7 separate regions of the Homo sapiens genome follow, and all the other regions are linked to region 1. Evidence: promoter capture Hi-C in human tissues and cell types (Jung and others, 2019). All regions are on one chromosome and are shown on one strand. The core of a region is centred on a gene start or on the middle of the fragment in contact, and the rest is flanking DNA. Distances in the headings are between cores, read along the strand shown. Region 1 holds the start of ATXN10 (ataxin 10). Region 2 overlaps NUP50 (nucleoporin 50). Region 3 has its middle 4.2 kb from the start of PPARA. Region 4 has its middle 16 kb from the start of UPK3A. Region 5 holds the start of FAM118A (family with sequence similarity 118 member A). Region 6 holds the start of LOC124905134 (a long non-coding RNA gene). Region 7 has its middle 14 kb from the start of WNT7B.

Evidence for each region. Contacts are between HindIII fragments. The study calls those that stand out against the background at their distance.
Region 2: a fragment that was not itself captured here is called in contact with the fragment with the promoter of ATXN10 in region 1 in 1 of the 25 tissues and cell types used here (hippocampus).
Region 3: a contact is called between a fragment that was not itself captured here and the fragment with the promoter of ATXN10 in region 1, in 1 of the 25 tissues and cell types used here (bladder).
Region 4: a fragment that was not itself captured here is called in contact with the fragment with the promoter of ATXN10 in region 1 in 1 of the 25 tissues and cell types used here (aorta).
Region 5: a contact is called between the fragment with the promoter of FAM118A here and the fragment with the promoter of ATXN10 in region 1, in 1 of the 25 tissues and cell types used here (heart right ventricle).
Region 6: a contact is called between a fragment that was not itself captured here and the fragment with the promoter of ATXN10 in region 1, in 1 of the 25 tissues and cell types used here (lymphoblastoid cells).
Region 7: a fragment that was not itself captured here is called in contact with the fragment with the promoter of ATXN10 in region 1 in 4 of the 25 tissues and cell types used here (IMR-90 fibroblasts, dorsolateral prefrontal cortex, lymphoblastoid cells and 1 more).

The regions. Positions count from the first base shown.
Region 1 is chr22:45,669,949-45,673,922 of GRCh38, reverse strand. ATXN10 (ataxin 10) reads right to left here and starts at 2,089. Exons shown (of 12, transcript NM_013236.4): 1 at 1,744-2,089. The coding sequence starts at 1,859. RefSeq lists silencers at 1,457-1,786, 2,117-2,166, 2,227-2,416. The HindIII fragment of the contact is 16,564 bases long and covers 1-3,974 here.
Region 2 is chr22:45,168,387-45,172,360 of GRCh38, reverse strand. NUP50 (nucleoporin 50) reads right to left here. Exons shown (of 8, transcript NM_007172.4): 3 at 678-761. Among named protein-coding and RNA genes, the nearest start is that of NUP50, 6.4 kb to the right of the region's middle. The HindIII fragment of the contact is 3,699 bases long and covers 1-3,548 here.
Region 3 is chr22:46,144,292-46,148,265 of GRCh38, reverse strand. No RefSeq gene overlaps it. Among named protein-coding and RNA genes, the nearest start is that of PPARA, 4.2 kb to the left of the region's middle. The HindIII fragment of the contact is 4,597 bases long and covers 1-3,974 here.
Region 4 is chr22:45,266,651-45,270,624 of GRCh38, reverse strand. No RefSeq gene overlaps it. Among named protein-coding and RNA genes, the nearest start is that of UPK3A, 16 kb to the left of the region's middle. RefSeq lists an enhancer at 480-1,131 and a silencer at 1,322-1,551. The HindIII fragment of the contact is 5,158 bases long and covers 1-3,974 here.
Region 5 is chr22:45,308,083-45,312,056 of GRCh38, reverse strand. FAM118A (family with sequence similarity 118 member A) reads right to left here and starts at 2,123. Exons shown (of 9, transcript NM_017911.4): 1 at 1,874-2,123. RefSeq lists an enhancer at 253-1,061 and a silencer at 1,778-2,457. The HindIII fragment of the contact is 15,582 bases long and covers 1-3,974 here.
Region 6 is chr22:46,011,026-46,014,999 of GRCh38, reverse strand. It overlaps LOC124905134 (a long non-coding RNA gene), which reads right to left and starts at 1,419. Exons shown (of 2, transcript XR_007068136.1): 1 at 1,190-1,419; 2 at 1-503. RefSeq lists silencers at 888-977, 1,128-1,317. The HindIII fragment of the contact is 5,321 bases long and covers 1-3,974 here.
Region 7 is chr22:45,989,533-45,993,506 of GRCh38, reverse strand. No RefSeq gene overlaps it. Among named protein-coding and RNA genes, the nearest start is that of WNT7B, 14 kb to the right of the region's middle. RefSeq lists an enhancer at 445-944. The HindIII fragment of the contact is 8,090 bases long and covers 1-3,974 here.

The DNA.
Region 1 (3,974 bases), core at 840-3,339:
AGGGAACTGATGTCTGACTAAATGTCTCTTCTGTACGAGAAACCTTATCTATGTTACTTAATTGTCTCATCGGTTTTGCAAAATTAACATATGGCCCCTTTGCAGACACTGTTCCCTCTAGTCCTCTCATCTATAACCGAGCACCTGAAATAACCTTAAAAAGCCTCTCCTGGCTCGCCAATCTTCCAACATATCCACATGCTCCCCTGTGCCACCACCTCTTGTATAGATTTCCATTACAATGTGTTTATTTAGCTATTTCCCAAATATGCCTGATAAAAGGGATCACTCACATCATTCCTCTCTGTACCCTCAGACCCCAACAAAAAAATCTGTTTCATAGTAGGTGCTCAATAAATGGTTGATGACTGGGTTATTAACTAAAAGGAGGGTCCATCATGATACAGAAATGCCTAAGCATTAAATCAATAAATACATCTCCCCCAAAGGCCCATAGAGCAGTACCAGGGACTTTTATTAATAGCATTCCTTCAGCAGCTCCACATTTCCCAAAGTGATGTGAGGTAAAGGAAGTGCTCAGACCAGGTGTCTAGTTTAAAGAGAGGAAGTCCTCTAGTGATCACCTAGGCTGACCCAAGTCTCAGTATTTCTTTCTTCAATGTTCCCTCTGCTTTGTACATACATACCCCCACAGCTGTGTTATCTTGTACATACTAGTACAGGAGAGAGCAAGGACTTTCCATTTTCCTACCCCATCACCTAGCACAATAGCTGATACATGGGTAACTACCAATCAATGTGTTAAGTGATAATATCAGCTACATTTAGTGCTATGTACAGGTATGTCCTAAGGATTTAATATGCATTATATCTCATTTACTCCTTATGACACTATCACCAGGGAGGTACTGTTCAACTTTACTCCCATTAAATAGACAAGAAAACTGAGGCCCAGAGGACAGAACAAGATCAAACAAGCATTGACTGAGGGCTTCGCACATTTTATATTTTCACGTACTTTATTTCATTTATTCCTCTGTACAATCCAGCAACTAAGCTGTGTATTATAGTCCCATTTTTAGACAAGAATTCTAAGGCCTGGAGAAACTGCACAGTAACACGCAGCTTGCAAGGCCAGGAACCAAATCCACAACTGTCGACTCCTGGGCACCTTCTCTTTTTGCCTGGCTATCTTGCCCCTCAGTGGCATCAGGACTGGACTGGTCTCTCCAGGCCCGTGCTCTTCCACACTGCACAGAGCGCTGCCCCCAGGGCAGATGGTGCAGCCTGGGCTCTAACGCCGAGGAGAAAGGAGTGCCAGTCCCACTCCATGCCTAGAGACTGCCATCCCCGCAACTGCCCAATTCCCGCGTCCGTAACACGGGTCTCTCCCGCTAAAACACACGCTTTATGACTCTGGGGGCCGCGTGGGTCTTGCAGCCAGGGCCTGGCGCAGCCCTCGCACATGACAGGGGAGGCCTAACCGTGTGTTGGGTCAACATCACCGGCACGCCGCGGCAAGGGCTCCCGGGATCGCGGCTTCGCACCCGGACTGGCTGCGGTGGGGGAGCGGGGCGCCCGCCCCAGGCCCCGCGGGGACCCACGAGCACGAGGCGGTGCCTGGGAGTCGGGAGGCCTGGGTGGCGCTCAGGCAGCCCGCGCAGGCCTCGCCCTCCGCGTCTCCAGCGAGGCGGGGGCGGCGCCTGGGTCCAGGCCGGGGCCGCCGCGGGAGTCCCGGCCGCCCTCCCCTGCCCGGGGCAGCCCCCCGGCCGGACCCGTTACCGGTTCCGCTGCTCTTTGAAGAGCGCCGTGAGCGCGCGCAGGGCCTCCAGGTCTTGGATGGGCGCCGGCACCATGACGCCCGACAGCCTGGCAGGCGGCGGCCTGGGCGCCGCCATCTTGCCGCTCACAGCTGGGTCGAGCCTGACGAGGAGGAGGAAGGCGAGGAGGACGAAGGGGGAGGATGACGAGGAGGGAGGAGTAGGATGGCGAGGAGGAAGGGGGAGGCCTCGCCCTACACAGCCCTAACCGCCGCCGCCGCTGCAGCCCGCGCTGCCCTGAAGCTGCGCCGCCGCCGGAGAGCTCTAGGCTGAGCCCAGACTCGCCTCAGGCGGGAGGAGGAGACGGCGCCGCGGGGGAGGGGGCGCCGGCGGAAGTCCCGCCTGAGGGGAGGGGGCGCGGCGGAAGTTCTGGGTGAGAGCGGGGAGGGATGCTGGGGGTGATTGACTGGGAAGCGTCGCAGACGGGGCTCCTCCGAGGGGAGGGGACGCCGGGGGGAGGGGGACCTGTGTTGATGTGGCCGTAACAGGGTCTCGGTCTTGGGAGCGGGTATCGGGAACCAGAGGTTCACCCTGAGAAAGAGGGGCGCGTCCTATAGGAGGGTGCCCGCGGACAGAGGGGTCTCCCCCAGGGGAGGGGATCCGGGGGGTAAGGGGCCTGTGGAGGGTGGGGCCGTAACAAGGTCTCGGTCTTGGGAGCGGGTATCGGGGACAGAGGTTCACCTTGAGGAAGAGGGGCCCTCCTGTGGGAGGGGGCCCGCAGACAGAGTGGTCTCCCCCAGGGGAGGACATTCTGGGTGGAGGGGACCCTCTTGGGAGGAGACGCTGACTGAGGGTCTCGGGAACGAAGGGGGCCGGGCAGAGGCTCCCACTGCTAAGGCTGAAGACCTTGATCCCACTGCTCAAGTGGGTTGATCAGTGCCCCCGCCCGGGTCCACTGGAAGCTGGAGCGGTCTGTCACTAGCTTGCAAGTCTCAGGCCCTGAAAACGCACTTCCCAGTACTTACTGATCATTGCTGATCAATACCAGACCACTTACCAGGCACTTTGCCTCTAGTGAGTATACATTGCTCCAGCTCCTCAAAGCCTTAAAATACCGTTCGAAGTCAAGAAGCTAAGTTACACAGCAATAGGGTTAGAATTGTTTTTTTTCCTAAGGGAAATGAATATATTTCACAGGAATCAGACAAGGCTTCTCTAGCTGGTGTTGATAACTCACATATTTTCTTTCCACTGCCCTTTATTACAGTGTATATACTTTCAACAAAAATTGTTGCTAAGCCCTGCGCTAGGTGCTGGAGATGTAAAGATTAATAAAAGACAGTTCCAAACCTGAAGGAACCTCACAGACTATTGAGAAGGAGAGAAGCAAACATAACTGAGTATAGTTGTGAACTGCTATAACTGTACAAATTGCTGTGGGACCACTTAAAATATATAAATACATACCCTTTACATTCTGCTTGGAGGGTAGGAGTGTGCTTATAACATGGCGCTTTTAACATTCTTTGCTAAATAAAATGTAAAGATAACAATAAACACCACCAGAGTATGCAGAAAAAGTGAATCCTGGTGGGGCATGGTGGCTCATGCCTGTAATCCCAGCACTTTGGGTGGCCAAGGCAGGAGGATTACTTGAGCCCAGGAGGTCGAGGCTGCAGTGAGCTGTGATCACACCACTGCACTCCAGCCTGGGTGGCAGAATGATACCCTGTATCAAAAAAAAAAAAAAAAAAAAAAAAAAAGGAGGGAGGGAAATGAATGCTGCTGCACAAGCAAGTTACTTGATATTGTCATTCAGTTTACCCATTTAATTGAGTATGTATTTATTCATTCCACGAATATTGCGGTGTACTATGTGCCAGGTATTAGATCACTTATTAGTAGCAGTGCTCAAGACAATGCAAAATGTTTAACACTCCTTAAGCTAACAGGGCAAAAATCTCTTAATTTTCCCTTGAGGAGCACAGGATAGTAAAATGTACTTGTTATGCACCAAAATCCTGATCTTTAGGCCAGACACGGTGGCTCATGCCTGTAATCCCAGCACTTTGGGAGGCCGAGGCGGGCAGATCACTTGAGGTCAGGAGTTCAAGATCAGTCTGGCCAACATGGCAAAACCCCCTTTCTACTAAAAATTAGCCAGGCATGGTGGCGGGTGCCTGTAGTCCCAGCCATTTGGGAGGCTGAGACAAGGGAATTGCTTGAACCTGGAAGGCACACGTTGCACTGAGC
Region 2 (3,974 bases), core at 450-2,949, 500 kb after region 1:
ACTGCAAAACGTGAGGTAGGGTAGGTTTATTTCAAAGCTGCCACCCAGGATATTCAAAGCGGCATCTCCTGCCTAACACCAGATGTCCAGGCCACCAAGACCACACTCTCCTGGGTCTAGAATGTATCTGAAGGGAGAGGATGTACTGGGGACGAGTTCTTAGATGCGGAGTGACTGCTTAATAATCAGCACATTATTTCAATTTAGGAGTTACAACTCATCTTCCATCCTTCTTAGCACAGGAATGAATCATTTTAATATACTATACTAGCAAAAAATCCACACCTAAAATGCCTCTAGTATAGTGAAAGGGCTCCCCCTACCAAGGCCTCAATCGCAGGGAGCAGACAAGACTCTCAGAAGATCCTTGCGTTTTCCTTTCTTCCTCCAATCTGATGCCACTTCGCCCACCTCTGTATTGCTTTGCTCATTTTTCTTCTCCAGATTGTCACTCAACTTGAATTTGTCTATATTTATCTTATTTCCTCAACTGGATAAGCTCTCTTTAAGGTCCAGACCTGACGTTTCTTATTTTTTTCTATCTCCCATGACCTACATCAAAGAATAAGTATTTTAAGAAAGCATTTGTTGATATCATTGCTCCCAGCGGAGGGATTGCTGTGCAACCCAGAAATCAAATGAGTATTTAATAGCAAGAGCTGTAAGGGGGCACTCACTTCAAATCCAACATTTCTGCGCTTTGCTTTCTTTATGGCTCTATTCTTCAAGACTTCCTCACTGGCCATGGAGAATGTTCCCACCTGCAATACAATACAAATTAAGCAGCAGTAAGATAAAGCCAAACAGATGACAAAATCCTCAACAACAACAACAAGCTAGAACTGAGCCACTGTGTCCGGCCTCTCAAAAATAAATTTTGGCCAGGCACAATGGCTTGCGCCTATAATACTAGCGCTTTGGGAGGCCAAAGGTCAGGAGTTTGAGACCAGTCTGGCCAACATGGTGAAACTCTGTCGCTACTAAAAATGAAAAATTAGCTGGGCATGGTGGTGGGCACCTGTAATCCCAGCCACCTGGGAGGCTGAGGCAGGAGAATCACTTGAACCCTCCGGGAGGTGGAGGTTGCAGTGAGCCGAGATAGCACCACTGCACTCCAGCCTGGGCAACAGAGCAAGACTGTCTCAAAAAAATAAATAAATAAATTTTGTTATTTATAACATACACATGATTTTTAAGATGAGTCCTGCCCAACTTGCCCACTGTACGAAAGGCCACGGAGGCACCTAGGACCTTGCTGGACAACCACTGCTCTTCCACAGTGCGCTCAAAGCACACTCATGTCCACACTTCTGATGTCCACGTCAGAAAGCTGCTGAATATCTTCGGCTTTAGTTTATAGCCCTTCTTTTACCCTGTAGGGTCGGAATAAAATATTTCTCATGCAAAAATTCTCACCTATAGTTGTTTCAGATCATATTAAACTTAACGGGCTCCTACACTCATAGAGGGGACCATCTGGCTGCACTTGCCCCAAGTTAAATGTACTTAACTAAATGTAATCTTTCCACACATTTCATTGGCATATGTTCGAATGGGAGTTCTTTCATTCCTGAATATTTTAATGTCTAAGCAAATAGTTACATGGTAATCTAGATGTTACTATAGCCCAGAATGTAACTGTGCTTAAGATCTTAAACCAACAACAACAAAAAACCAAAAACCCCCATAACCAAAGATTTTAGTTAAAAAGCACCAAATCAGTTTTGACCCTGTCAAAACACTCACATCCTTGGGATTCTGGTTTCCCTAAACATATGTGAGGAGATACACTTGTAGAGAAAAAAAGTACTAGTACCAGAAAGATTCCAAAAGAAGGAAGATGGCCGTCTAAGAATAAGCTTGGAAACAGTTGCAGTTTTAACATTTTTCTTTTTTCACTTAGCACTATGCTGTTAACCTGAAAGTCGTGGTTACAGATTTCCTTAGTCATCTGGCCTGGGGGTAACACACTGCTGATAAGGTACGACTGTAGAGTCCAGCCCTACTGGGCTTTGCGGGTGTTCTCCTCGAAGGGGGAAACAGAGATTGTAAGAAATAAAGACACAAGACAAAGAGATAAAGAGAAAACAGCTGGGCCTGGGGGACTACTACCACCAAGACACGGAGACCGGCAGTGGCCCTGAATGGCTGGGCGTGCTGATATTTATTGCATACAAGACAAGGGAGCAGGGTGAGGAGGATGAGTCGTCCAGGGGATTGACAAGGTCAAGCAAGTCACGTGATCATGGGACAGGGGCCCTTCCCTTTTAGGTAGCTGAAGCAGAGAAGGAAGGCGGCGTACGTCAGCATTTTCTTCTATGCACTTATCAGAAAGATCAAAGACTTTAAAACTTTCACTATTTCTTCTACTGCTATCTACTAAGAACTTCAAAGAGGAACCAGGACTACGGGAGGAGCATGAATGTGGACAAGGAGTGTGACCACTGAAGCACAGCACCACAGGGAGGGGTTCAAGCCTCTGGATGACTACTGGCAAGCCTGGACAATATCCAATCTCCCACAAGAAGGTGGTGGAGCAGAGTGTTCCCTGACTCCTCCAAGTAAAGGAGACTCCCTTTCACGGTCTACTAAGTAACAGGTGCCTTCCCAGGCACTGGCGTTACCACTTGACCAAGGAGCCCTCAAGCGGCCCTTATGCGGGCGTGACAGAGGGCTGGCTCACCTCTTGCCTTCTAGGTCACTTCTCACAATGTCCCTTCAGCACCTGACCCTGTATCTGCCGGTTATTCCTTGGTTATATTAGTAGTACAACAAAGAGTAATATTAAAAGCTAATGACTAGTAATGTTTATACTAATGATTGATAATGCCCGTGATCATCTCTGTATCTAATTTGTATTATGACTATTCTTATTCTAACTATTTTATGTATTATACTGAAACAGTTTGTGCCTTCAGTCTCTTGCCTCGGCACCTGGGTAATCCTTCGCCCACATCCTATAAGTACAGCTGTGTTTTATTCTTTGTTTTTTAGACAGGGTCTCACCCTGTTGCCCAGGCTGGAGTGCAGTGGTGCAATCACAGGTCACAGCAGCCTTGAACTCCTGGGCTCAAGCAAACCTCCCGCCTCAGCTTCCCAAATTGCTGTGACTATAGGCTCATGCCACCATGTTCAGCTAATTAAAACAATTTTTTGGGGGGTTGGGTGCGGTGGTTCTCGCCTGTAATCCCAGCACTTTGGGAGGCCAAGGCGGGTGGATCACTTGAGGTCAGGAGTTTGAGACCAGTCTGACCAACATGGTGAATCCCTGTCTCTACTAAAAATACAAAAATTAGCTGGGTGTGGTGGTGTACACCTGTAATCCCAGCTACTCGGGAGGCTGAGGCAGGAGAATCACTTGAACCCGGGAGATAAAAGTTGCAGTGAGCCGAGGTTGTGCCACCGCACTCCAGCCTGGGCAACAGGGTGAGACTCTGTCTCAAAAAAAAAAAAAAAAAAAAATTTTTTTTATAGAGACCGGGATCTCTCTATGCTGCCCAGTCCTACTGTTTATAAGGGAAAAATGATCAGATTTCCTCAGGGGAGACCATTTTTATTCTGCTGGAAAAGGAACTAGGCCAATCTCAATTCTATTCCTATAAATGCAATTGTTAGGGGTCTCAGGTCTACCATTAAGAAAAGGAAATAAAGCAGGCCTCCAAGAAGCATTAGGGAAACGGAGTACCACAGACCAAGATGGTGATGGTGTACCACTTTCACATCTGGGCAGTGTGCTAAGTTCATGACTACATCACTTAACTCAGCCTTCAGTCATGACTAAAATGGCTTACTGCAAACATGGGTTCAGAATGCTTCAAGTATACGAAACTCAGGAGGAAAAGTGCTTCTACTAAGGAGAATATTTAAGGAGCAGGCACTAGTGGAAAAGCACATCTAAATGTAATTAATACATTTCTACACTAACTAGAGGTCACAGAAATGTAATTAATAAATATCTACACTAAGTACAGGTC
Region 3 (3,974 bases), core at 825-3,324, 470 kb before region 1:
TTTTACATTTTCTGATCCGGAAGATGTTCTGAGGGTAATTATTACTGTGCCCACATTGCAAGATGGAGACTGAGGCACAGAGAAGCCCCATCTGCACTGGGTCCCCCAGGCCAGCGGCAGGGCGCAGGACGGAAGGCAGGTCTGTAAAGCCCACGTCTGCCCTGCTGAGCTGCTCTCTCCTGCAAGTGCTGACCTGCCAGCCAGCCAGAGAAGCCGAGGCTCTCCCACAGCCTCAGGGAAAGAATTGGGAAGCTGGGAATTCAGACGGGAAGGGGTTGCTGGAGGAGGCAACCTGGAGTGATAGGGCTTGGCCGCTCAGTACAGGGCAGCAGTTAGACCCTGAGTGCTGGGAGCAGGTGATGACGGTCATCTGTGTTCAGGGACCCCAGTGCTTTCCCTGACCCTGCCAGGGTGAAGCTTCTCCTATGGGCCTGGGGTCCAGGCTGGAGTCTGTTTGCCAGCCAGGGCCTGCGAAGTTTGCTGCTGGCTTGCCCTCTGCTGATGTGCAAAGCTCTCTGTCAAGGGGGAGTGTGTGCTTCCAGGGTGTCATCCGCCAGGGCAGTGGCCTCTGAGCTCCTGGAAGCGTGCCTGCAGGTCAGGTGGTGGAAGTCCACCGGGGCAGGGGCCGTGGGCTGAGAAAGGGAGGGCTCACTGGCAGCGAGCAGGCGGCTGCTTGGCGACCCAAGGCTGGACCTCGTCGGTGAGGGCCAACCATGGGCATGTCCTTAGTTGCCATCCTGGTACTGACAGCAAAACCCCATGGGTCCAAGGTAACAAAGTATTGTCATACTAGGGGACAGAATCTACAAGAGTCCCACAAGGCAGCTGTGCTTATGCTCATCTTACAGATGAGGAACGAAGGGCCAGGAATGGCAGCATGTGGCCAAGGTCCCCGGCAGGGAGTGAGAACTCTCCCGAGTCCCAGTCCATCAGCACCTGGCCCTGGGTACCCCCGGGGTTCGGTTGTCTGTTGCAGAAGCTGTCTGTTGGCTGATACGGCAGCCTCTGGCAGACTCAGGAGCCCAGGGTCAAGGATCAGATTTCCCTGGTGGCTGCTCCTGGCCCCACAGCTCCAGGGGGGTGGCAGCAGCATGTGCAGAAGCCTGTGGCAGGAGACATTCAAGGGGAGAGAGTGTGGAGATGGCACAAAGCGGGCAGAGCTGGGCAAGGCCCTGGCCAGGCAGGTCTTGCAGCCCAGTGAGGAGTTTAACTTTGGTCCTAAGGGCTGTGGGACACCTGCCATGGAGGGTTGTCAGCAGAGGCATGACTCCATCTGATTAGCACCAAGTGCTGCATGCTACATGTTAACCAGTGGTCACAGCTGAGGTGGTGGGGAGGGGCTTAAGCTGTGCACCCATTCTAGCTTTGCAGGATCTGGAAGCTTCCGCAGGTCCAGAAACTGCTGCTGTCATGACACTGTACCCTTTGAAAATTAACCAGTCCCCAGCTTTGCAGCAGGGCCCATTCGACATGGCTCAGATGTCTGTCTCTGTAGATCTTGAGAAGAACAGGGCAGCCCACCTGCAGCTGCACTGCCTCCCTTCTTTGCCCCTCCAAAGGGACAGGTGTCCACCTCGTCACACAGGATCCAGCTCCAGGGCTAGATCATGGATGTTGTTTATCCAGTCCAGGACATGGACTGGAAGCTGCAGGACCCCTCCCTGTGTCATGCTAGGTGCCGTGGGAGTCTCACTGCAAAGTGTGATGTGTAGATAGACGGATTTTCTTTCTTTACTTTTCTTTTCTTTTTTCTTCTCTTCTCTTCCCTTCCCTTCTCTTCTCTTCTCTTCTCTTCTCTTCTCTTCTCTTCTCTTCTCTTCTCTTCTCTTCTCTTCTCTTCTCTTCTCTTTTTGAGATGGAGTCTTGCTCTGCACTTATGTCCTTGCTGGAGTGCAGTGGTGAGATCTCGGCTCATTGCAACCTCCATCTCCCAGGTTCAAGTGATTCTCCTGACTCATCCTCCTGAGTAGCTGGGATTACAGGCACCTACCACCATACTCGGCTAATTTTTTGTATTTTTCATACAGACAGGGTTTCACCATGTTGACCAGGCTGGTTTCGAACTCCTGACCTCAGGTGATCCGCTCGCCTTGACCTCCTAAAGTGCTGGGATTACAGGCGTGAGCCGCTGCGCCCAACCAGATAGACATATTTGGTCCATAAAGGACAATCTGCTCTGTGTGGAGTTGGATTCTGCAATGATCTGACCCAGTGGTTGGCAGTGAGTGGCACTGCTGCGGCCAGGGAAGACTGCAAGTGCAGAGATGAGGTCTGGCATGACAGCCTGGAAACACACAAGACAGGCAAGCTTACGTGCACAGCACCGTGCCACGTGGGCACTGTCCCCCAACTTTCCCTCATGGAATGAGTGGGTGCCTGGGGTTTGGAGTTCAACAGAATTGGATTCAAATCCTCCTGTACCTTTTCCTCAAACTACAACCTCCAGCCGGTGATGCTATCCGAGCCCCCTCATCTCTAAAATGGGGCAGGGACGCCTTCCTGGATGGGTCCTGGTGTGAGTTTGAGGAGGGAGCACGGGGGTGGTGCAGGGTGGGGCCTGATGAGTGGGTCATATTTGGGACATGGTAACCACCAGCTTGAGGGCTCTGTCAAGAGTTGCCTCCTACAGGAAGCCTGCTTGGCAACCGTCCCCCTGCCAAAGCTGCCCTCTGCCTTGTGTGGCCACCACCTCCTGTGTTCCATGCGGCTCTTGTCGCATCCAGCACCATCTTTATGGCGGCCCACTGCCCGGTCCTGTCTCTCCACTCAGGACAGCCGACAGGCAGGCCTCATGCCTCGCAGACACCAGCCCCAGTGCCTACGTGTCTCCCGCCCGTGATCCCCTGTCCCACCCTATTATCTGCCTTTCACCAAAGCATCCTGCCAGCCAGGAAAGGCAATCTGAACCGGAGCCTGTGCAGCTGAGTGGAAGGGGGGCTGCCCTATTGCATTGCTCTGCTTGGGTTTCACTAAAACGTGGGATTGGGCCATGGTCCCTCATCTCCTGGAAGGGACAGGTCATGTTTGACAAAGTTTTCTGGGTCTGCAGCAAAGTGAAAAAAACAAAACAAAACAAAACAAAAAAACAAAAAACTGACATTGTGAAGAGTTTCCTATAGAACTTCAACTAGCTGATTTAAAGAAATACCTCGGGGCCAGGCGTGGTGGCTCATGCCTGTAATCCCAGCACTTTGGGAGGCCGAGGCAGGTGGACCATCTGAGGCCAGGAGTTCGAGACTAGCCTGGCCAACATGGTGAAACCCCATCTCTACTAAAAATACAAAAATTAGCTGCGCATGGTGGCACGTGCCTGTAGTCCCACCTACTCTGGGGGCTGAGGCAGGAGAATCGCTTGAACCCAGGAGGCGGAGGTTGCAGTGACTGGAGATTAGCCTGGGCGACAGAGTGAGACTCTGTCTCAAAAAAAAAGAAAAGAAAAGAAAAGAAAGAGCCTTGGGCTGGGCATGGTGGGCCTGTAATCCTAGCACCTAGGGAGGCTGAGGCAAGTGGATCACCTGAGACAGGAGTTCAAGACCAGCCTGACCAATATGGTGAAACCCGTCTCTACTAAATACAAAAAATTAACTGGGCGTGGTGGTGCATGCCTGTAATCCCAGCTACTTGAGAGGCTGAGGCAGAATTGCTTGAACCCTGGAGGCAGAGGTTGCAGTGAGCCAAGATTGCGCCATTGCACTCCAGCCTGGGCAACGAGAGTGAGAGTCCATCTCAAAAAGAAAAAAAAAAAGCAATAGCCTTTTTTTTCAGGCCAGGCATAGTGGCTCACACCTGTAATCCCAGCACTTTGGGAGGCAGAGGCGGGAGGATTGCTTGAGGCCAGGAGTTTGAGACCAGCCTGGGCAACATAATGAGACCCCGTCTCTACAAAAAGTAAAAAAAAAAAAAATTAGCCAAGCATGGTAGCACGTGCCTGTGGTCCCAGCTACTCAGGAGGCTGAGGTGTGAAGATCACTTGG
Region 4 (3,974 bases), core at 522-3,021, 400 kb after region 1:
GGGGGGGAGGACAAACACAGGTGCATCCCCACCTCAGGGTTACATGAGAGGAGTGTGAGAAAAGAGGGTCTCAGGGACTTCACGCAGTGCTGTCCTGGGGCCAGGCAAGCTTCGCTCCTTTCTCTCCCGCTTCCTTGAGCACATGACAGTGACCCTGAAGGCCTAATAGCACTGCTCACTACTAACCCCTACTGAGCACTTCCTCTGTGGTCCACTCCCTCCTGAGTGCACCACAGGCAGTTTCCCGAATCGTCCTGAGAATCCCAGGGGTGGCTCTGACATCACCATCACACTTTACACATGAAGAAATTGAGGCACAGAGAGGCTGAGTAGTTTACCTAAGGTCACACATCCATGGAGCGTGGAGCTGGAATTTAAACCCAGGCAGTCCGCTTCCCTCTGTGCCTGAACCAGTCACCTGGTGCATGTGTGAGCCTGATGCCAGCACGGGACCCCGGGGAATGAAAGGCTGAGTATTTGCAAGACTTTCTGAAACCACTAAGTCTGCAAGGTTGCAAATGAGTGAGAGATTACTACAGGGATAACTGGAATCTTCTCTATTATTCGTAAGAAAATAGTTTTCAAATATCTTTAAGTACTTTATTATTGCTCACAATATGAAGACAAGTCTCACAAACGATCCCCCACCCCAACTGAACAAGGGAACAGGGAGAGACTGTGAAAAGCGGGGAGGGTGTTAGATGCAAAGGCTGGGCTGCAAGCTGGCCTACTAAGGATCACCTTCAGAGCCCGAGGTTCTGCAGGAGGAAGATTCAGCCCTCAGAAGTTATAGATGGGGGCTGACAGGCTGGGGCAGGAGCCAGGGAGCCCAGTTACTTACTGAGCGTCTGTGGTCCCAGGCTCTAAGCAAAGGTGGGTGGAGGGACAGGACTTCCACCATCGATCATCTGAGTAAGCTGCCTGGGGCTCCCGGCTCCCAGATTTATTCACCTGAAACCCACTCACCACGTGCTAGGATCGTGGGTGACCCAGCCCCATCCCGGCCGGGGGACTCACTGTCCACTGTCCCAGGAGAAGAATACAGAGTGACAGTGTGGCCAGGGGACCTGTAGGAGCCCAAGGGAGGTGCCTGGTTCAGCCTGAGGCTCGGGAAGGCTTGCTGGAGGCGGTGGTGCCTCGACTAGATCTTGAACGGGGAAGGTATTCCGCGTGTTCCCGGTGGAAGGAACAGTATGCACTACGCCGGGAGGTGAGAAGTGCAGGGGGTCGGGTTTGGGTGCAGCCGGGACCGCAAGGGTGGGCCGGGGCCGGGAGAGCAGGGTCCTGGCTGTGGAGCGCGGCTTCGCCGCCCGGGGCCTGCCCCCGCCCCCGCCCCCGCCCCCGCCCCCGCCCCCGCCTCCGCCTCCGCCTACCCAGGCTCCGCCCCCACCTCCTCTCAGCCCCGCCCCGCTGGCGCGTGGAGCCTCGCGTTGGTGTCGGGCGCCCCCTGGCGGCGCAACGCGGGCGGTTCGGCCGGGGAGGGGGCGGTGCCGCGCCCACAGCAAGGCTGACTCCCCCAATTTCTATTAGCATCAGAAGAATGCCCTCTCAGGGGGAAGCAATTGTTTTCGCGTATAATTTCGACACATTTGCCATTATGGCAGCGCAGTCGCGAGATGCTTTTGCTTTATTACTTTTTTTTATAATGGAGGGAGGGTCCCGCCCAGTGTCTAGGGTTCAGGGCCCGCGGCCTCCACGATCCGGGTACGACCACAGGCGGGTGCCCACCCAACTCCATCCTGGCCTTCTTCGCCTCACTTCCAGGGGCTGCAGGGGACACCGAGCTCCTTTTCCTCTCAAAGGTGCAACAAAAACCCAGCGAGCACTGCTGCGTGCCCGGCGCTGCTAGGGACATCAGGAGAGGGCAGAAGCCTGTGCTCCCGGAGTCGCCTTTCAGCAGGGACGCGGTCAGCAAACCCACGGCGCTCTCCTGTGCTGGGAGAGACGAGGGCAGGAGATGGGGCGGGCGAGGGGCGGGAGGAATGGGGGCGGGCGAGGGGGATGGGGGCGGGTGAGGAGTGACGGGGGTGGGGGCGGGTGAGAGGTGAGGGGGGTGGGGGCGGGCCAGGGAGATAGGGGAGGGTGAGGGGTGAGGGAAGCGGGTGAGGGGAGTGGGGCGGGTGACGGGGATGGGGGCGAGTGAGGGGTGAGCGGGTGGAGGCGGGGCTTGCGTCGGTGGCCTCACCAGAAGGGACTGTGCGGGGACCTGGAGGAGGGGACAGAGGGAGGTTGGGGAGACTGGGAAGATCTTCCAGGCAGAGGGAACCTCACCGGCGGCTGTCAGGAGGAGGGAGGGGAGAGGGCTGGGTGATGAGGTCAGCAAGGGGCAGGGGGTGGAGGATGGGGGGCGACGGGGCGGGGCCTGGCAGCCCAGGACGGTTTTGGAGCTCGGGGAAGGTCTGAGCGGAGGGGCAGGGGCAGCGGTTGGAAGGCTGCAGGCTGGCGGGGAGGGAGAGGGGGACAGGAAGCCCAGCAGTGGCGGGGCATGCATCCTCTCCCTTCCACCCCCTCTTTCGGACCCCCTCTCTCCTAGGCTCCCCCACTCAGCTCCCACAGATCCTCTTGCCCCAGGTCCTTCCTCTGTGTGCGGCAGAGGGAAGGACCATGCGTGGACATGGGCGGGAGGATCATTTGAGCCCAGGAGTTCAAGACCAGCCTGGGCAACATAGTGAGACCTCATCTCCACAAAAATAAAAGATTAGCTGGGTGTGGTGGCGCGTGCCTGTAATCCCAGCTACTCGGGAGGCTGAGGCAGGAAGATTGCTTGAGCCCAGGAGTTCAAGGCTACAGTGAGCTATGATAGTGCCCCTGAACTCCAGCCTGGGTGGCAAAGCAAGACCCTGTCTCAAAATAAAATAATAAAATAAAATAAATCACACATATTTGAAGTATACAATTTGATGAGTTTTGAATATAGATGTATATTCTGTGACTCCATCACCACAGTAAGATAATGACCATTTCCGTCACTCCCAAAAGTGTGCCCCTGGCGGGGCCCGGTGGCTCACGCCTGTAATCCCAGCACTTTGGGAGGCTGAGGCAGATGGATCACCTGAGGTCAGGAGTTTGAAACCGGCCTGACCAAACATGGCGAAAACCCGTCTCTACTAAAAATACAAAAATTAGCTGGTGTGGTGGCAGGTGCCTGTAATCCCAGCTACTTCGGAGACTGAGGCAGGAAAATCGCTTGAACGCCGGACGCAGAGGTTGCAGTGAGCCGAGATCGCACCACTGCACTCCAGCCTGTGTGACAGAGTGAGACTCCGTCTCAAAAAAAAAAAAAAAGAAAAGAAAAGAAAAAGAAAAAGTATGTCCTTGTCCCTTTGTAATCCATTCCCTCTTCATCCCCCCTCCCCTCTCCTCCACCCCACCCCCATCCCACCCCCAAGCAACCACTGGTCTGCTTCTGTCACTATAGATGAGACTGAGATTTTCAGAATTTCATGTAAGTGGAATCATAACATGTGTTCTTTTTTGGTCTGGCTTCTTTCACTCAGCATAACTATTTTGGGGTTCATCCATTTTCTTAGATGCCATTAATAGTTCATTCCTTTTTATTGCCGAGTAGTATCCAATTGTAGGATATGCAACTGGATATGCAGTTAGCTGATCCGTTCACCTGTTAATGGGCGCTTTTAAAATTTTAGCTCTAAAGCTGCTATGAACCTTCCTGTTCAAGTCTCCATGTGGACATGTGCTCTCATTTCAGTTGGATAAATACCTAAGAGTACAATGGCTGGGCCATGTGGCAGGCATGTGTTCAACTTTTTAAGAAACTGTCAAATTGTCTTTCAGTGGATATCCATTTACATTCCCACCAGCAGTGCGTGAGAATTCCAGTTCCTCCACATCCTCACCAACACTTAGTGTGTTCAGTCTTCTTCATTTTGGCCATTCTGGTATATGTATAGTGGTGTCTCACTGTAACATCTCATTCCCTAGGGAATCTTTTTTTTTTTTTTTTTTTTTTTTTT
Region 5 (3,974 bases), core at 874-3,373, 360 kb after region 1:
CTTCAGGACCCCTAGCCCAGCATGGTCCTGGCCCACCTCTGAGACTCAGCCTCTCCCCACCCTGCCCCACTGCGTCCTGTGTGGTCATTAGACTATGGTGAAGCACACACACACAGTCACCATGAAGCACTAAGGCGACCACAGACCCTACGGTAATAGGACAAAAACCTCACTTAAAGTTCAGACCCCAGGCTCAGACAGGAAAGAGCGGGAACCAGTCTTCTGGGCCTGGGCTTTCAGAAGCTTAGCCCCGTTCCAGAAAGCCACAGTCCCCCACTACCACCGCCTTGGTCCAGGTCACCCCCATCTCTCATAGGGTCTTGCTTCCTCCAAAAAAGTCTCCCCACCACAGCCACATGGATGGTTCAAAAACACACCAACTCCCGCCCCTCTCCTCCCAAAGCCCTTCAATGGCCACCCACTCCCTTTAAGTACCAAACCCTCCACTCAGCTTAAACTGGGCATGCTTTGGTCCTGACTGGCTCTCAGAATCACACCCTCTTTCTTGTCACTCCCACCTCAAACCCAGTACTCTGCAAAAGTCCCAGCTTCTCCCATACCAGGTCTCTAGCGAGACACTTCCCTCACTTCTCCCCCTGACCACCTCCCACCTTCCTTCAGCTCAGCTGGATCATTTCTCAGGACAATGGCAGGTGCAGTCGTTCAAGAAAGGGCCAAGGGCACGGTGGGCCTCCGGGAGCAAAGCTGGGTTCTCCGCAGTTAGCATTCACTCCCACGCCACCTTCATTAGGTGTGCTCCAGCCACACCTCCCGCCTTCCAACACTGTGTGCCGTGGCAGCCTCTCTGCCTTTTGACATACTGGCTGTCCCCTGAAACTCTGCCTGGAATGACCCTGGCAAACTTCTCCTCTAGCTCAACCTTCAAGAATCAGCTCACCTGCTGCTTAGCATCTCCTCCCCACGACTCCTAAGACGCCCTCCTTAACACCCACCCCTTCCCAGAATCCCATGCCCACCCAGATGGGTTCCCTGCCAGCGACGACACAGCTTCCTCCAGATAAAAACGACCTACTTGTCTTATGCCCCAGGTCCCTAGGCCCTGACAGCAGGGACCGTCTCATCTCTATTTCCAGTGTCAATTCCTGGAGCCTATCAGGCATTCAAAAACAAAATGTTAGTTCCTTGAATGAAAAAATTAAGGAGGAGACAACCTAAAAGCGTCCCCATGTGCCCTAACTCGCTCCCTCCCCGGTTCGGCCGCCCTCGGCCACCTCAGGTCTCCTGCTCTATAGACTGTCCTGTGGGGCCACCTGAGTCTCAGCAGAACATTAAAACTTAAACCCGGCCCTGCACCTGCAGGCGCGGGGACCACAGCTTAGGAGGTGGTCGTCGGGCGCGCTGTTACCGTCTTAAGTTATCACCAGACCTGGGAACACTTCCACCCACGCCCCGCAGGTCCAGGGACCTCAAGTTGGAGAAACCTAGCCCTGAGATCAGGTCGGAGAGGGAGCCTCAGGGTGGGCGGCACGGGGACCCGGGGTCTCGCGGGGCTAAGGACACTGGGAACCACGGCTCCCCACAGGAAGATGCCCCGGGCCTGGGGGCTTCTGAGGAGGTTGCTGGAAGCAAGTCCCAAGGGAACCTCGAGAGTTTCCGGAACCAACAGTTCTCAGGGCCCACTAGCGGCCGGGGTCCTCAGGGGGTCTCGGAGTCCAGAGAAAATCTTGGAGTTTCGGGGTTCGCGGGCCTGGAGGGGCAGGGCGGATCCTGAGGGGGTCTCGGGGGCAGGGGCTCCAGGGGAAGAGCTGAGAGGGAGTCCTGGGGTGGCCCCGGGGCCGGGGCGGATCCTGAGGATCTCGGGGTCCCCAGGGGCTCCGGATGCAGGGACCGCGGGCCCGCCCCGCCCCCTCACCTGCGGCGCCTCCGAGACGCTGGTCCCAGCTCGCGCTGCCACCTCTTCGCCTCCGCAGCCGGCTACGCCTCCGGGGTCTCTCGGCGGCCGCGCACCCCTGACGCTGGGCGGGGCAAGGGGATGGTTCTCGGGGAGGGGACTGCGCAGGCACGCGGGCTAGAAGCGAGAGCGAGAGCCGGAGTCGGAGCCAGAGCGGACGCCACGCCGCCTCCAGGCGCCCCTCCGCGTTAGCCGGCAGCGGCGCCGCCGCAAACCCTTCCCCCGCGCGCCCGCCCCAGCCGCGTGAACGTTCCGTCCCGAAACCAACGGCCCCGCGGTCCCCGGAGGCCCCGCCCCGGGGAAGGGCGAAGCCAGGACGCGCGCCCCGCCCCGCCCCGCCGCCAGATCCTCTGGCACCGCCCACCTCGGTGACCACGGTCCCGCCCACCGGGGAGGCCACGCCCCCGGGGTCTCCAGCGCAGGCGCGGTCGGATGTGCGGGGGAGGGCTTGCGCTGGGGAGCGCTTGGGCCTAGAGTCCGCGTCCTAGCCCTACCTGGCCCGGCGAGCCGCGCGTCCCGTTTCCTCATTTGCAGAAAGGGGGCGGGAGCACTTTGCAGGGACGTGGCGAGCATCAAGTGCGATCGGAAGCGCTCCTTTGCAACTGCATCCTGCACCACACTTAGGCACAGCTTCTGTCCCCAACCCAGACCTGAGGCTGGTCTCCGTCCCCCAGCAGACTCCTGCCCGCTTAAATTGGCCAGTCACCAGCCCTACCTTCTTTCTTTTTCAGAGTACTTGTCACTCTCCGAAATTAGGTACGCTTGTGACTGGCTCCCACTTCCCCTGAGAGCCGGTACCTTGTCCGTCTTGTCCACTGGGGGTTCCCAGAAGCCAGCACGGCGCTGGGCACACCATGGCCGCCCACATGTTTGTGCGTGCGTGAGTGTCTTCCCCGCGCTCTTCCCTCATCAAGAAATACTCTTCCCCGAGGCTGAGAATTTCTCCTAAAAATACAAGAAATACTCTTCCCCAGCTTAGGTTCGATCCGGCGAGGCCCCCTGACTCCTCGCGCATCCCTGTCGCAGGTGCCGCGTCCGTAAAGGGTGTGATCCTAGCACCTACCTTGTGGGTATTGCGAGGACTGAGATTGTGCGTGGGTGGGCTGGGCACGGGCCCCCTAGCGATCTTATTACTCCTCCTTTGTCTGCCACTGAAGTCTTTTACCTAAACAAGACCCAATCCACTTCCTCTTCCCAGCCTGCCCTGCCCAACCTGGAGTCATTTATTACTTCCTGTCTCCTTGGCACCTTTTTTTCCTGCCTGATTTTAAAGTTGGCTGTTAATATCTCCCCCTACCCTAGCCCACCAGAAAGCTCTCATTTTGTGACAGAAGGTAGTGTTGTGTTAGCGGCCTGTGAAATTTTAGGGGGGGCCAGAGCCCAGAAAACAGTGGGAGCAGTGACTCTGGGATGAAGAGGGCAGCCCCTGGGTGCTCTGTATGTGGGGTCAGGCACTCCCTGAGCACTTTGCATGCGTTCCTTCATGGTGTTCTTGGAACAACCCTATGAGGAAGGCGTCTTCATTGTTATTCCAGTTTAACAAGGGGAAGCTCAGGCCCAAGAGGTTGTGTAGTTCCATGCCTCAGCCCACACATGTAACCACCACTGCATACAGCTCCCCAACCCCTGGAGGTGCGACTTAAATGCAAAAAAAGGCCGGTGGCTCACGCCTGTAATCTCAGCACTTTGGGAGGCTGAGGCAGGTGGATCACCTGAAGTCAGCAGTTCCAGACCAGCCTGGGCAACCTGGCAAAACCTCATCTCTACTGAAAATACAAAAATTAGCCGGGCGTGGTGGCGGACACCTGTAATCCCAGCTACTCGGGAGGCTGAGGCAGGAGAATCACTTGAACCCGGGTGGCAGAGGCAGCAGTGAGCTGAGATCATGCCACTTCACTCCAGCCCGGGCAACAGAGCGAGACTCTGTCTCAAAAAAAATTTTTTTTAATGCAAAAGATATATAATTCAGTTCATGAACACCTGCTCCTGTACTGGGTGCTGAAGCCCGAGACCTGTGGGAGATGTGGCCCCTTCCCTCATGGAGCTCCCAGGCCCCAGCAAG
Region 6 (3,974 bases), core at 522-3,021, 340 kb before region 1:
CTCCAAGAAGCCCTCATGGGTTGGGACATTGCGGGAGGCACTCTTGATGTCAGCAGGGTGACCCGGTGGAGATGTGGGGCTGCTGCAGGTGGCTGGGGGTGGAGGTCCTGCCGCTGTGTGGACATAGACTCGCCAGAGACCGCGGAGGTGCGTGCCTGTCTCCTGGCCCAGGCCTACTGCTGCTGGCACGGTCCTCTCCACCCAGCCCTCCTTCTCTGGGCAGCTGGCCTCGGAAATATTGGAAGGGATAGCCGTGCGCGGTGGCTCACGCCTGTAATCCCAGCACTTTGGGAGGCTGAGGCTGGTGGTTCACTTGAGATCAAGAGTTAGAGACCAGCTTGACCAACATGCTGAAACCCCGTCTCTACTGAAAATACAACATTCGCCGGGCGTGGTGGCACACGCCTGTAATCCCAGCTACTTGGGAGGCTGAGGCAGGAGAATCGCTTGAACCGGGGAGACGGAGGTTGCGGTGAGCCGAGATCGCGCCACTGCACTCCAGCCTGGGCGACAAGAGCGAAACTGTCTCAATAAATAAATAAATAAATAAATAAAAATACAAGAAAGGAAAAAGAAATATTGGAGGGGACTTGGGGTCCAGGGCTGGGCAGGGCTGAAGGCGTAAACATGTGAGAGTCTGGAGCCGGATGAGGTCACGAGAAGACAGGCGGGACAGGGACAGCGCCGTGGGTGCCACTCGAGACACAGGGTGGGCGGGGCCGGCCAGGCCTGGAGCTGGCTGCCACCGGCTGCGGCAGGAGGGAGCTGGCTGCCGCCATTTCAGTGGAGGGTGGCGACAACCCCAGTCTGGAGGGGGCTGAGACCTGTGCTGGGGGCCGCCCGGGGTAGATCCTGTCTTGAAGGTCTGGCGGTGGGAGGGAGGGAAGGTGGCCGCGGGTGGAGGTGGGCGTGGCGCCAAGGGCGGTGTTCCCTGAAGAGCGAGAGTCGGAGCCCGCCGGCTGCCGCAGGGAAGGGAGCGGCGGAAGATGCGGAGATAGAGGGAGGTTCCCAGGAAGGCAGAGGGAACGGGCAGGCCCGGAGGAGCAGGCGGGAATGTGGAGGGGGGTTGGAACCGCAGCACAGAGGGTTTGGGCGCACAAAGGTGAAGGATGTCCCCCGGGAAGCCAGAGGGCACGGCAGCAACTTGCCCGGGTCCCAGGCCTGACTTTCACACACCCCCACCCTGCACCTGGACGGTGACGATCTGCTGGGCCCGGTGGCGCCTGGGAAGGCGGCCGGGGGGAGGTCCGAGTTACTGGAAAGTGCAAGTTCCAACCCAGAGCTGCGCTGAGCAGGGCCGGGCTGCTGGGGCGCCCAGGGCTGCAGGTCCTGGCGGGGCCTCTGGGAAGGCGGAGGGCGCTGACTCAGGCCCTGACTCACCAGGGGCTGCCCTGCGGGGGATCTGGGTCCGCCGAGTCCGGGGAACCTCTCAGGTCTGCCCCCCAGCGACCTTTCCTGGGAATGTTCCAGAGCGGTTCTTACTCCTTCCTGGAGGGTGGCTTCTTTCCTTCCTCCAGAGTTCAAAGCCATTTTCTGCACTTGGCCCCATGGCCTCTGAGCTCAGAGTTCACCCCTCATGGAGCTGGAAGGGACGGTTTCTAGAGAGGCCTCCATGCTTGGACCAGGATGAAAATCCTTCACCATCTTCAATGCAACAAGCTGTTCACGGACCCCCAGTGCCATTCTCTCATTCGTGTGTTCAGGCGTCCCTCATGCCCTCACTCATTTATTCAGCCCATGTGTTCACTGGGGGCCCCGTGCAGGGCTGGGGACGCTGCCATGGAGGAGGCGGAGGCACCCTTGCCCCAGAGGGAGCTCCTGTGAATTTCACTGCCAGCAGCTGGGAGGCTGGTGAGAGACTGTGGAGCCTGCGTCGGGCCAGGCCGGGGAAGGCCTCCTGGGTGATGAGGGCGGAGGTGGGTGCAGCTTGGTGGAGGCCAGGAAGCCCCGAGAGGAGGCCGCCAAGGCGTGGTGGGTTGGGGCAGGTGAGGGCAAGGGGGTGGAGATGGGCACAAGGCCTGGCTGGCACCATGGAAGGTGCAGCCACCCAGACCCCCAGAAGGAGGCTGAGTGTGGGGCCGCAGGACACCTGGGGGCCATGGGACAGGAGGGAGGCCCTGAGGCAGTGCCTGCCTGTGGGTTCCCCACCCCTACACCCCCCATCTCAGAACTCCCTCCAGGGCACACAGTCCTCAGCCGTGGTCCCTTCAGGGTTGGCCCGAAGGTCCTGGCTTCCGTGGGTCAGCCCCATCGATCCAGAGCATAAGGTCCAGCCCATTCTGCCCAACTCAGGCCAGCTCTGGTCCCTTTGAGCTGCAGAGCTCGCATAGGGTCAGGTACGCACAGGGTCCAATTGCTGCCCCTGCCTACGCCTGTGTCCTTCCCTTCGGTCCCCAGTGTTGGCTCCAGGGCAGCCCTGACATCCTGCTGGTGCAAGCTTGCCTCGGAGGCAGCTTCCGGGGGCCCATGTGGCTGCCGGGTCAGCAGAGCATGCTGCTGCCTGCCCCTGGGCTCCAGGCTGTTGGGCTGAGACCCCACAAGCTCCCCTGCAGGCAGGCCGGTGGTCCAGCCCCAAGTGGGGAAGTGGCAGCGGGAGGGGTGCTGGGAATGCCACTGCCAGGGAGCCCACAGTGACACAGACCAGGGAGCTTCTGCAGGCCTGGGAGCTGCTCTGTAGATGGCACCCCTTGCCCTGGGCCCCATCCTTATCTCCTTTCTCCTTAAAATCAGAGCCTCTCCCCTGCAGGCCAGCCCAGTGTCCCTCAGCTCTGGGTCCTTCTAGCCTCAGTGCCCCTTGGCTTCCCATGCTGCTGAATCACAGTGATTGGGATGACAGGGTCCCGCCTCCTCTGCCTCTGAGTTCCAGGACCGCAGACGCCATTGTAACCCACGCACCCGCAGAGGCCTGTCTATGAGCTCCTGTCGTGCTCTGGGTCTCCCCAGAAGCCGGCCCTGAAGCAAAGATTCATGTGAGTGGCCCCGGGAGGGAGGGCCTCGGCCAGTCCAGGGCACTCCGCTAGTGGAGTCAGCCACCGCCTGGCCCTGGGCTCTGTCTCGGGAGCCTGAGCCGGGAGGGCAGGCCTCTGAGTTGCCCCTGTGGAGGGCTTTTGTCCCCAGCCCCATCCCTCCCTGGGGGAGGACCGCCTCCCGCACTGCACTCTGGCATTCTGGGTTTGCCTGGCTTGGGGCCGAAGACAGCATCTGTCCACAGTAGCAGCAAAAATACCCTTCACACATGGGCCCAGGACTGGTCACTCTTTGGGGGTGCCCCTTGGGAGGGTGGAAGTCCCACGGGATATGTTGCTGCTGAGCCCCAGTCACTGTGGCTGGACAGAGAAACCCTATTCCTTTATCCGCTGAGATCCTGCTGTCTTCATTCTCCTGAATGGCTGGGCAAGGGAACTGGGTGCCAGAGGGCAGAACTGGGGTAGTGCCTGCCCCGGCCCTCCCAGCCTCTCCCCTCCACTCCCTGTCCCCACCGCCAGCCCCAGCTTGTTCCCCAGAGACCCAAGGGACAGGCTGTGGGGCCTGGCAACTCAGCCCCGACGGGCCCAGTCTAAACCGGTGTTCCGCCAGGGAGGCCCATTTGGCCGTCCGGTTGCCTAAACAGCCCAGCCTTTGTCCGGGGCGGTCACAGGCGCTGTTTGCTCAGTGCCCGGCTTGTTTTTCCCAGGCCAGTGAGGCAGGCAGAGGCACCGGAGCCATGGAAACAGCACAGACCACCTGTCCTGCCCCAGCTCCGCTCCCGCTCGGTTGCTTTCTCTGCCTCTGTGGACCTCCTGGTGCGCTGGCCCTATCCCAGCTGGGCCCTGGGCAGAGCAGGACTCACTGTCTTGCCCCCGCCCACCCTGGGACTTCAGCTGGGCCCAGCACAGAGAGAGCCAAGGGGTTTCTGGAGCTCTGGAGTCCCTCCACCTGCTCTCAGCACTCACCAGACGCAAGCTCTGTGGACCATGGGGACTGAGGGCTCCTTC
Region 7 (3,974 bases), core at 165-2,664, 320 kb before region 1:
CATCACCTCCACCATCACCACCATCATCACCATCATCACCATCACCGCCATCATTACCATCACCTCCACCATCACCACCAGCATCACCATCACCACCATCATTCCATCACCTCCACCACCACCATCATTCCATCACCACCATCATTACCATCACCTCCACCATCACCTCCACCACCACCACCATCGTCACCATCACCACCATCATTACCATCACCACCATCATTACCATCACCTCCACCATCACCTTCACTACCACCACCACCATCATCATCGCTAACAAGAACAACAACATTTGCCAAAGAAGCCCTCTCAATGGTCATCACTGGGTAGCCCATGGTAGCCGCGGCCATGTTTGTGTGTCTCCCACAAGTACCTCAGGCACCGCTCTGCACTCGAGGTGTTAGGGGAAGGTAGAGTGCAACAGCACTGGCCCAAGACCTTCCCAGAAGCTGCTCCTGAAGAGACAGAGACAGACACTGTGCAGTGGGTCCAGGCTGAGATGGGAAGGCAGAAGGTGTGTGGAGGCAAGGGAAGGGAGCATCTAAGGTTACCTTGAACAACCAGGAGGGCTCCCTGGAGGAGGTGCCAGCCACCTCAGTAGGCTGAAGAGGAGTTTCCTGGTGAGAAGTTTGGAGGAGGGTGATCTAGGCAATGTGCCCCAAAGAGAGCATGAGGGATCAATAGGGACAAAGGGTAGTGGAAACCAGGGCTGGAGCTCAGTGCAGGTCGGTTTGATGAGGGTGGGTGCAGGGGCTATGCTCCTGGGAGCCCCAGGGAAGTGCCTGCAGGGGCCCTATGGGGACAGGGCAGGCCCTATCACCCCATTTTAGAGCAAAAGACTGAAACTTCTGGGAGAAGGCCACTCACCCAATGCCGGTTTGAAGCCGATGGCTGTGTGGCCCCATGCGTGGCTCAGCAGGCTTTGCTCCTGCTCATCTCCGTGCCGTCCCTCAGCCAGGAAGACGGTTTCTTGGACTGTCTGCCTGGCTCACCCTTCAGGGCTCAGCAATGGCTGTCTTCCTCCAGGAAGCCTTCCCCGAACACCCCTGCCCGCTGCCTGTCTCCCTGGGGCTCTCATGGCACTGGGCTCTTGTTAGTTTCTGTGGCATTTTCCTTTGAAGGCTGATTTCTCCCCAAGGCCCTGGGACCCGGCCAGCATGGCCTGCCCATCGAACATAGTTGATGCCACCCCTCCGTCTCCTTCTGCCACCAGTCCTGGTGAATGAGCCCCTGGCCCAAATGGGCGAAGATTCTGCCTCGACAGGCTAGAAGCTTGCCCATGCTCTCCCCGCCGGGATATAACTGTGGGCCCCTCTGCCTGTCCCTCATCTGGCCTTTTCCATGCCTGCCTGGCCTGTGCCACAGGTCCTGGTGGGAGTGAAGGAAATCTTAGCGTCTCATAAAGTCTGCAGCTCTTTCTCTGGGCTTTTATTTTATCTTATTTTTTAGAGACAGAGTCTCACTCTGTCACCCATGCTGGAGTGCAGTGGCATGATCTCGGCTCATGGCGACCTCTGCCTCCCGGATTCAAGCCATTCTCCTGCCTCAGCCTCCCCACTAGCTGGGATTACAGGTGCGAGCCACCACGCCCAGCTAATTTTTGTATTTTTAGTAGAGATGGGGTTTCACCATGTTGGCCAGACTGGTCTCAAACTCCTGACCTCAGGTGAACCACATGCCTCAGCCTCCTAAAGTACTGGGAGTACTTTAGGAGGAGTGTGAGCCACTGCTCCTGGCCCTGGTGGAACTTTTAAAAGCCCAGAGAAAGACCGGGCGTGGTGGCTCACGCCTGTAATCCCAGCACTTTGGGAGGCCAAGGTGGGTGGATCACCTGAGGTTAGGAGTTTGAGACCAGCCTGGCTAACATGGTGAAACCCCGTCTCTACTAAAAATACAAAAATTAGCCAGGTGTGATGGCGTGCACCTGTAATCCCAGCTAGTGGAGAGGCTGAGGCATGAGAATTGGTTGAACCTGGGAGGCGGAGGTTGCCGTGAGCTGAGATCACGCCACTGCACTCCAGCCTACGCGACAGAGTGAGACTCAGTCTAAAGAAAAAAAAAGTTTCCACCACCAGAAACAGCCCTGCTGGATGGATCCTGTGCAGTAATATATCTGTTTTAATAACTCAGTGGTCCGCAGTGCCCTACGACTACAGCACCAGCTGTAGGCAACATAATTCAATTCAGGACCCAGCCAGCACTCTCTGAGCTTTCCGTTTGACTTGCACGTGTTTTAATCTCCTGGGATCCGGATCAGTTTCCTCCTGGCCTGGCTCAATGAGAAGACCACATTTCAGCCACTTTAACTGGTGAGGAAATTAGCTTGATGTGTATATTTGAGGCATGTTGATATGTGTCATGATTCCCACCCCTCAAAATCTTTGTATGTTGGCTCCAGTTCCTGAAAAGAGTGTTATAAAAGCCCCAGCCCCTCCTTTTGCCAGGGACTTGTATGTACCCATTTCCCACCAGGCAGGGAGGGCAAAGGCACCTCAAGCGCTGAGAGGTGGCCCAGGATGCTGCACTCAGGGTACAGCTAAGAGTGCATTAGAAGTGGGGAGTGTTCGGGAGCTGCAGCTCTTTGTGGTCTCAGGCAGCCAGGAAATAGGGTACATGGGCAGGACCCACTGTCTCAGAGGTTAGGCCCTGTCCCTGGCCTTGGCCTGGACTTTCTTACTGCCTGCTTCCATGGGGTGTCTCACCTATGCCCTCCACCTAGCGCCTCCCTAGGGACCCTGGCTGCCCACCTGAAGGGGGTGACGGCTGGGCTGCCTCCCTGACGTGCCATCTGCTCCCTCCTTTGGGCACAGCAACTCTGAAGAGCAATCAGCCCCAGCCCAGGTGGGATCACTGCAAATGTGGCCTTCAAACTCCAGTAATCCTGGCAATGCCCTGGTCTCCGCAGTTAGTGTGACTCGCTGGTTGAGCTGAACACTTAGCGTGTGCCAGGCCCTCACTTAGGGCTTCATGCGCCCACAGATCAAGGTGCTGGGTGTCCTTTCACAGATGGGGAAGCTGAGGCTCGGGGTCACAGAGCCTGGTGGTCCACTGTCCCCGTCTCCAGACTCTGCCCCCAACACCCACTTTCTGTTCACTGTGGACCCAGGATCAGCTGTGACAGCTCCCGAGGAGGCCCCCCAGCACCCTGCTGGGTAGATGGTGTTACCTCCTTAAACCTCCCGGTGATGTGGACATTCACACCTTTGGTTGAGGTGTCCTGGAGAGGAATGATTTGCCCGAATCCCACGGCGTGTACACGGAAGGCCCGGGTTCGAATTGGACTCAGTCTGAGCTGTTGCCCGAAGTCTTCCGCAGCTGTATAGCCTTACAGCTATGAAGGCATTTTCTGGGCCTGGGTTGGAGCCCACCCTCACGCCCTGGCCACTGCCTCCTGATGGCCTGTGTGCATTCTCAGGCTGAAATGGGGACCCCTGTGGAGAGGGGCTAAGGAGTCCAGGTCTGTGTGCCAACCTCCCTAGGCGGCCCCTGCAGGGAAGGAAGATTGTATGGTCCAGCCAGGGACCCCAGGCCGTGGGTCTGATGCCAGATCTGCCAGCTGTAGTCACCCAGTAGGAGATGGCGAAACAGCCCTGGGGAACCCCACTGTCAGCACCAGAGTTCCTGGCTCCTGGGGCTAGCATGCTGGGGCTCAAACCCCTGCTTGATGACTGTGTGACCCTGGCAGCCTCCCTGGGTCTCGGCCTTCCCACCCTTAAAGCAAGAGGTTCAGACCAGATCAGTGGTTCTTGGTCGTTCATGGGTCCTGTGTGGTGTGGGGGAAGCAGGCCAGTTTCCAGGCGTCGATGCCATCAGTGGTCAGCCCTGGGGCTGTGACTCTTGGTGCCCAAGACTAAAACAGACACCCCATGACTTTCAGGAGATCACCCTGACAGGTAGGATCGTGGCTGCAGGTTTGCTTAAAACGAAATTGTTTATTTGGGCTGTTCTGATTCCTGCAAGCAGGAGCTCAGATG